2 separate regions of the Homo sapiens genome follow, and region 1 is linked to region 2. The links are contacts of gene promoters, found by promoter capture Hi-C in human tissues and cell types (Jung and others, 2019). All regions are on one chromosome and are shown on one strand. Each heading gives the region's core, a stretch centred on a gene start or on the middle of the fragment in contact. The rest is flanking DNA. Distances are from core to core; before and after follow the strand shown.

What was found. The method cuts DNA at HindIII sites, captures the fragments that hold promoters and counts their contacts. A contact is called where the count stands out against the background at its distance.
Region 1: a contact is called between a fragment that was not itself captured here and the fragment with the promoter of CRYGS in region 2, in 1 of the 25 tissues and cell types used here (aorta).

What each region holds. Positions count from the first base shown.
Region 1 is chr3:185,962,337-185,966,263 of GRCh38, reverse strand. It overlaps the pseudogene NMRAL2P. Among named protein-coding and RNA genes, the nearest start is that of TRA2B, 26 kb to the right of the region's middle. The HindIII fragment of the contact is 7,383 bases long and covers 1-3,927 here.
Region 2 is chr3:186,541,642-186,545,653 of GRCh38, reverse strand. It overlaps CRYGS (crystallin gamma S), which reads left to right and starts at 1,274. Exons shown (of 3, transcript NM_017541.4): 1 at 1,274-1,348. The coding sequence starts at 1,328. The HindIII fragment of the contact is 9,271 bases long and covers 1-2,705 here.

The DNA.
Region 1 (3,927 bases), core at 468-2,967, 580 kb after region 2:
TATTATAGCAGAAATAAAATGTCAGTAGAAAAAGTTGGAGAACTCTCCCAGAATTAGAAGGGGAAAAATAAAGCAAGTAAAATAAGAGAGAGAAAAATAATTAGAAGATCAAGCCAGGGGAATTATAGAATGAGAAATAGATGGAGGTATTGAAATTATCTAAGAAAATAGTAATTTCTTGGAGTCCAAGGATATTAACTGAGCTTCCAGATTGAGAGGTCACTGAGTGCCCCATACAATGATAAATGAACTCCCACTTTATGCGCATCACTGTGAAATTGCAGAACACTGACTGCTGGTGTGGATATTTGTCCCCTCCAAACATCATGCTGAAATGTGATTCCCAATATTGAAGCCTAATTGGAGGTGTTTGGGTCATGGGAGCAGATCCCTCATGAATAGATTAATGCCCTCCCTCAGAGGTGAGTTCTCATCTATTAGTTCCTGTGAGAGCTGGTTGTTAAAATGAGCCTGGCACCTCCACCCTCCCTCTTGCTTCCTCTCTCTCCATGTGATCTCTGCACATGCCAGCTCCCCTTTACCTTCCACCGTGAGTGGAAGCAGCCTGAGGCCCTCATCAGATGCAGATGCACAATCTTGAACTTCCCAGCCACGAGAATCATTAATCAAATAAACCTTTTTTTCTTTATAAATTAGAGAAAGTAAAACAAAACCCTTTTTCATCCCTCCTAGGATGGCCATTATATGGAACCATTCACAATTAAAAAGCAGGTGGGTTGAATATTTTACTCTGACTTTATAAAATAAAAATCTAAACAAACTGAAGTACTTTCTATTTGAGTATAATTTGTGCTTTTTGCAGGGGGTTGGGGGGTGCTGGAGTAGGTAGGGTGGGTCATGGTCCTTGAAAAGGATTTTTATAGGGAGGTTTCTGTTATTGTCCTGGGACCATGTTTTTGAATGACTTTTACATGCTGTGCTATGCCCTGGGGATGTAGTGGTAAACAATAGCAGGTTTGAACAAGTTGGATATAAGATAAAATTTATGAAAGACATTATATATTGGATTATGGCCTAATGAGTTCAAGGATTTACCCCAGATTATACAGCTGCTTAAGTAAGGATTTCAGGATTCAAACCTGAACATGGCACCTGCCAGCACAGAGCTTAAAGACTAGCAGAGGAGATCATTAAAGAGCAATTATAATACAGCGTGATATGTGCTATTAGGGGAGGAGGTAAAGGGCTGAGGGCACACAGGAGGACATAAGTGGAGCATCTAACCCAGACTAGAGAGAGGCTTCCTGAAGGAAGTGGTAACAGAAATGAGCCCTAAAGAACAGGCAAGAATTGGGAGAAGAGAGGCATGTGGAGTGTGTTGCATGCAAAGCAATTGCAAGTGCTTTATTCTAGAGGTGACAGAGAAGGGAGTGAATTCAGAGAACTGAAATGAATCTGACTGAGAACTGCAGGTCAATGTCACACATGAGGCTGGAGAAGCAAAATAGGCCTAGAGGGCTGCACTTTGTTCTGGGAGCAGGAGATTTTATGAAATTGAGCAGTATGTTCAGACTTACATGCTGGGAAAGTGCTCTGGTTAATGGAGAGTGTGGAATAGGATAGAGAGACCACAGACAAGGGTACAATTAGTGGGCTTTAAAATAATCTAGGTAAAGGTTGATAATGACCTGTGCTAGAAGGGGTTATTCAGGTGGAGGGAATAATGCAAATTTAAGAGATACTCAGAATATTAAAGGATACATTTTTAAAGAGTAAAATGATAATTTGTACACACATAAAATGAATGTGTCAAAATTTTATTTAACTCATTAATTAATGAGGGAACCAGTACAATGTTATAAGAAAAATTCAAAGAACACACATATATGTAGGCAATCAAGAATGCCAAAATGCTAAAATGAATGTACAATTAGGGACAAAACCAGTCAATATCCACCAGGCAATAATCAATTGTGGTCCACCAGACACAATTCATTTGTATTTCTTTTTTTTTTTTTTTTTTGAGACAGAGTCTTGCTCTGTTGCCCAGACTGGAGTGCAGTGGCGTGATCTCAGCTCACTGCAACTGCTGCCTCCTGGGTTCAAGCGATTCTCCTGCCTCAGCCTCCTGAGTAACTGGGACTACAGGTGCCTGCCACCATGACTGGCTAATTTTTGTATTTTCAGTAGAGACGGGGTTTTACCATATTGGCCAGGCTGGTCCCAAACTCCTGACCTCATGATCAGCCCACCTCGGCCTCCCAAAGTGCTGGGATTACAGGCATGAGCCACCACACCCGGCCTTCATTTGCATTTCTATGGACAAGAATCGGTTGCGTTATTATCTATTTGCTACAACTTATAGAGTTATAGATATCTTAAAAACAAGGAAAGGCTCACAAAAGTGAGAACGGTGCCCTGGGCATGGACACCCAGCAACCTTTTTTTCCCATTTCAAAGTCTTTCACAGTTTTCCTTTTTTTTTTTTTTTTTTTTGAGACGGAGTCTCGCTCTGTCACCCAGGCTGGAGTACAGTGGCGCGATCTCGGCTCACTGCAAGCTCCACCTCCCGGGTTCACGCCATTCTCCTGCCTCAGCCTCCCGAGTAGCTGGCACTACAGGCGACAGCCGCTACGCCCGGCTAATTTTTTTTTTTTTTTTGTATTTTTAGTAGAGACCGGGTTTCACGGTGGTCTCGATCTCCTGACCTCATGATCCGCCGGCCTCGGCCTCCCAAAGTGCTGGGATTACAGGCGTGAGCCACTGCGCCGGGCCTTCACAGTTTTCCTTGACAAGATGATATCAACAGGATTTTGGTGATTAACTGGATGTGGTGATGATGAACAGGGAGGATTGAGAGAGAAAAGTCAAGTGTGACCATTTATTCAAAGAGGTTGAGGGGGCATTTAGCAAGATGTTGATGTTGGAACAGAAGGGTACCGTGAGAAGGTTTTGTAGGCAAGGGAGTCTGAGATGTGGGGTCAAGGAAAGGATGCGTGGCGAAATATAGGGTTGAGACTAATAACCAGAGGGGCTTACATCTTGAGCAGTAATGAAGGAGAATGGGAATGTGATACAAGGTGGTATTAGCTGTCTACAAGGTTTGAAAAATTAATCAGATTTGAAAGATGGTTCTGTTTAAAGGTGGAACATGGAGAGAAGGCAAATGGAGTGTGGAAAAAGCTTCTAAGAGGGAGAATGGAAAAAATCAGAGAGATTTAGAAGACAGAATTAATAGAGTGACTGGCCACTCCCAAAAATCTTATCCAACTGCCTACCCAGTCTCTGGATGCCTAGTTGGCAACTCAAGTTTAATGAGACCAATTCAAGTTTAAGGAGTTCCTGACCTCCTCCTCCCCACTGTCTCCCATATTTCAGTGAATCTCAACTTTATTCTTCCAGTTACTCAAGCCATAAAACTTCAGAGTCATTTTCAACTCTTCCCTTCTTACCCCTGATATCTGGTCCACCAACAAATCCTGCCAACACAACTTTTAAAACCTCCACAGAATCTGACCACTCTCCACAATCTCATTGCTACCACCCTGGTCTAAGCTACTATCATCTCGCCTATTTTATGACAACCACCTCCTAACAGGTCTTCCTGCTTCAGCCCTTATCCCCTATAGTCCCTTCACAAAGCATAAGCTAAAATGATCCTTTTAACACCAAAGTCATGTGATTCCTCTGCTCAAAATCCTTCAGTGTCTGGTATGCTGTTGCAATCCTGCAGTCCCAGCTACTTGGGAGGCTGAGGTGGGAAGATCACTTGAGCCCAGGAGTTTGAGGCTGTGTACTATGATGGCTCCTGGGATGGAGAGTCACTACCCTCCAGCCCAGGCAACACAGTGAGACCCTGTAGCTAAACACAAACACACTGAAAAAACCAAACCCTTCGATCACTTTTCTCTTTCAGGAAAAGCCAACATCTTTACCATCACCCTAACGCTTAATAGAGTCATCCCC
Region 2 (4,012 bases), core at 25-2,524:
AAAGTTTTAAAGTTTTATAAAATTTTATAAAATTCAGAAAACCAAGCATATAGCTTAATATTTTCTCAATAATCTTTATATTAAGGCACATTTGCCATTTTCTGAATTGACCATAATACATCCCATTTATTAAAATATTTGTTAGTTTTGTTAACAGAAAGATGAGGAAGTTTGACTTTTGAGAATATACTTGATTTTGAGAATATACTTGATCAGTTAAAGTTAAAAATGGAGAAAAGTTAATTTATTGGGTTTTTTTGTATTTACATAAGATGCAATCTCATTCCTAAAGTCAGAGGTGTATTAGGGCCAAAAAATGTTCTCCGATCATGTTCCAATGTTGTATTGTGGGCAAAGAAGACCACCTAGCCAGTAGCTTGTTGTGTTTAGTTAGCTAACCCTTGGCAAATTCAGGAGTCCCACAGTCACTTTTCTACATACGGTGGCACCCTTCTTATGGATTAGAGCTCTTTTTTTAAAAAAAATTGTGTTTTGAAAAAAATTAAATAATAGTTGCAAGAATAAGTCAGTGAACTTTAACATACCCTTTATCTAGATTCCATTCACCAGTTGTTAACATTTTGCTACATTCTCTTTACCACTCAACATGATAGTATTGTTTTATTTTTGCTCAACAATTTGAGAATAGGTTGCAGACATCTTGAACCTTTCTTCTAAATGGTAGCATACATGTCCTGGAAACAGACATACTCTTACCTAGTCATAGTACAATGATCAAATTCAAGAAGTTAAACTTTGGTACAATAGTATTATCTAATTTACAGTCCATATTAAAATGTTTTCTGATTGTCCCAGCAGTGTCTTTATAGTGACTTTTTTCCCCAAACACAAGATCATGCATTGCATTTAGTTGTCATGTAAGTTTTGTTGCGTTTAGAACATGTCACTTCTGTCCAGAAATAGAGGTAGTCTTCTGACTCTTACCTCTCACAAGCTTTGTTGAAGAAAAAGGACATTAGGAATTTCAAAGAGGCTGCTTAAAAAAAAAAAGAGAGACTCTTTTGTTCTTAATTTTTACAACTTTGTCTGGGTTTTGGTTTCTTGACTCAGCAAAGTCTGTAATGCAGCCCTGCTTGGTAAGCATTAAAGGCGGTACTGAAGCTTTCCTTTATTTTATAATCCCAGTTGTTTTTTCTAGAAACCATCAATAGCGTCTAAATGACTGACTCAATTTTTGGATCCTATTCTCATGACTAAGCAAATGTTTGACTGAAACCAGCCCATATAAATGTCACTGTGCCTCTAACTCTCTGTAGCCATTCCTGAATTTCTTTCAGCACTGGGAAAACCAGTCTATGCACCAAAAATGTCTAAAACTGGAACCAAGGTAAGTAGTCATATTGATTTTTAGCCTACCCGCTTTTCACCTAATGATGCATTCAACACACAGAAAAGCTTTTGCTTCTTTGCCTAGAGGTGAGTATGATAGTGGTTAGAGAACTGGGATTGAGAGAGAAGATTAAGAAATGCTTATTATATTTTCCACCCTTAACAGAATTACCGAACACTTTATTAAGGGTTTATCTTTATGTATGGTGCTATGTTAAATACTATACAGGTAATTTATAAATATCATTATTATTTCTGCCTTCTAGCAACTAATATTCTATGCAACTGATATTCTCCATAGGAATAAGGCATGCTAATGGGGATTATATTGAGCAGAAAACTTTTAATAATCAATTAAAATTTTGTTTTCTGAAATTTAGCCTCAACCATTTGTGTTCTAAAAGGCCAAAGTGGATGGGCCAATCAGGTGAATAAAGTCCTACATCTCTCTTCCATTCAAGCAATTATTTTTACTCGTTCCTCAAATAAAGTGCTCCCTTACAGTCAGAAAATTGCCTCTAAAATATTTAACTCACAATTACTGGATTGGAAATTATTCTTTCAGGTAGGGCTTTGGGAATGAGGGAATATGCTTTCATTTTCTTTTTTGCGCTTCCACTGATGAGACAAAACTGCTGCCTGATTTTTACCCCCAGCTATTTGAAAATTTTCAAACCCATTGAATCCTCAAAGAATGGCAAAGAAATGTTGAATGAATATTTGTATATCTTTCACTTATATTCTCCAGTTGTTGACATTTTGCCATATTTGGTCTCTCCTATTTCCATCTCTCTTTATTAAACCATTTGAAAATTAGTAGCAGATTTTATTATACTTTTGCCTTAAGTATTTAGGCATGTATCTCCTAAAAACAAGGGCATTTCCCTGTATAAACACTGTATCACTAGCATGTCCCCAAGAGTTATCATAAATATAATAGCTAATATTGAGACCATATTCAAATCTCCCCTGATTGTCCCCAGAAAAGTGCTTCATGGTGGACTTTTCCCCTAATACAGGATCCAGTGAAAAACATGTATTGTAATTGGTTGTCATGTCTCTTTATTCTCTTTAGTTTTTTTTAGCCTCTCTAAAAATGTCCCTCTACCCTTTTTGTTGTTGTTCTTGAGACATTTTTCAAAGCCTAGGTTAGATGTCTTTTAGAAAGTCTTGCAATCTAGATTTGTCTAATTGTTTCCTCATGTTTAGATTCAGAATAAATATATTTGGCAAGAAAGCTACATAGGCAATGTTGTGTACTTCCTGTTGCATCAGGTCAGAAGGTACCTGTTAACTTGTTCTGTAATTTATTAGTGCTTGATTTTTTTTTCATTGGAAAATAGAACTAATAATCATGCTTGTCATTCAGGAGGTTTGGGGAGAAAAATTAGTGTCTTCAGTGCTCTGAGGTTCTTGAAAATATACCATGCAAATCCCACTAAAAAAGAATTTTTGGTCCTTAGAGGAGGGATATCCATGTATCTTGAGGTAAAGCTGTTCTACAACCATCTTAGATGAAAACATCTGCTTTTAAAGATTTGCAGAGTAGTAATAGTGTACTCTTTTTTATTTATAGATGAGTCGTTCATTTAGTTAAATAACTTTTGCTTGCTAGGGTAAAGGAGATAGTAAATTATTTCTTACTTTTTCTCATTGCTTCTTCCTTTCCCACTATCTTGATAGCAGTTTAATCAGAGGAGTTATGGGCTTGGCAAAAGGAATAGATTTTACTAAGTATGTTTTCATTACTTCTGGGATACTCAAGATATTTTTCTCTCTGCTGCATTGGATTAGTAGGCCATTTTTCCAAAAATAAACCTGATAATGATAGGAATTTTGTAATAATTTCTAGGAAAACTTTCTGCACATTTCTTTAGCCTTCTCTACAAAATATTTTGCCCAAAGGTCAAAACCTCTAGGCTGACAATAGCATGGATTTCATGGTTATTCTACAAAAAGAAATTGAGCACAGCTAGGTGCAACATTCTCTGGCTCTGAGATATAGAAGGTCTCCCACTGAAAGGAGAGCTTAGTCTTGGAGCTCAGTAATGATTCCATAGCAACAGGATGAGGGCTTTGTTTCAACTTTTGGATGGTTGGCTGGTCTCCTGGGAGGGTGGACATCAGGTGACCGTATCAGGCATCATGTATCTTTTTACTTAGCAGATATTGATAATTAGTCACGCAAATGTGCAGAAGGCAGTAAATGTGAGAAACTATGAAGTGAAATAGATGGTATTATTAACTTCATTTCCCATAGGATATCTTTTGCAAAGGCTCTTTTTAGTGACTTGTTTGGTCAAAAACCAAAGGCAAATAGAACATATGAATTAAGGAGTTTAGAATCTATCCATTCTTAGAGAAGTTATTTGACTTTCCTAAAGATCTCTCCACAGGTCATGAGGAAGAGCCCCTGAGGCTTAGGCCCAGCCTTGGTCATTGTCCAAGAGAGTAAGTGCTGCCATGTTAAACGAAGCTAACTGGGCAGGCAGAAAGACAGCAAAGGAAAATAAAGTGAACAATAGTTTACTCACCAGGAGTTTTGCACTGCAGCCCACCAGCTTGTCTGCAACTAACTTGTAACTAGGTAGTGACATTAGGCCAATCACTTAACTTCTTCATCTGTAAAAACTGTAGCAAAAGCTTATTGCTAATCATGAGT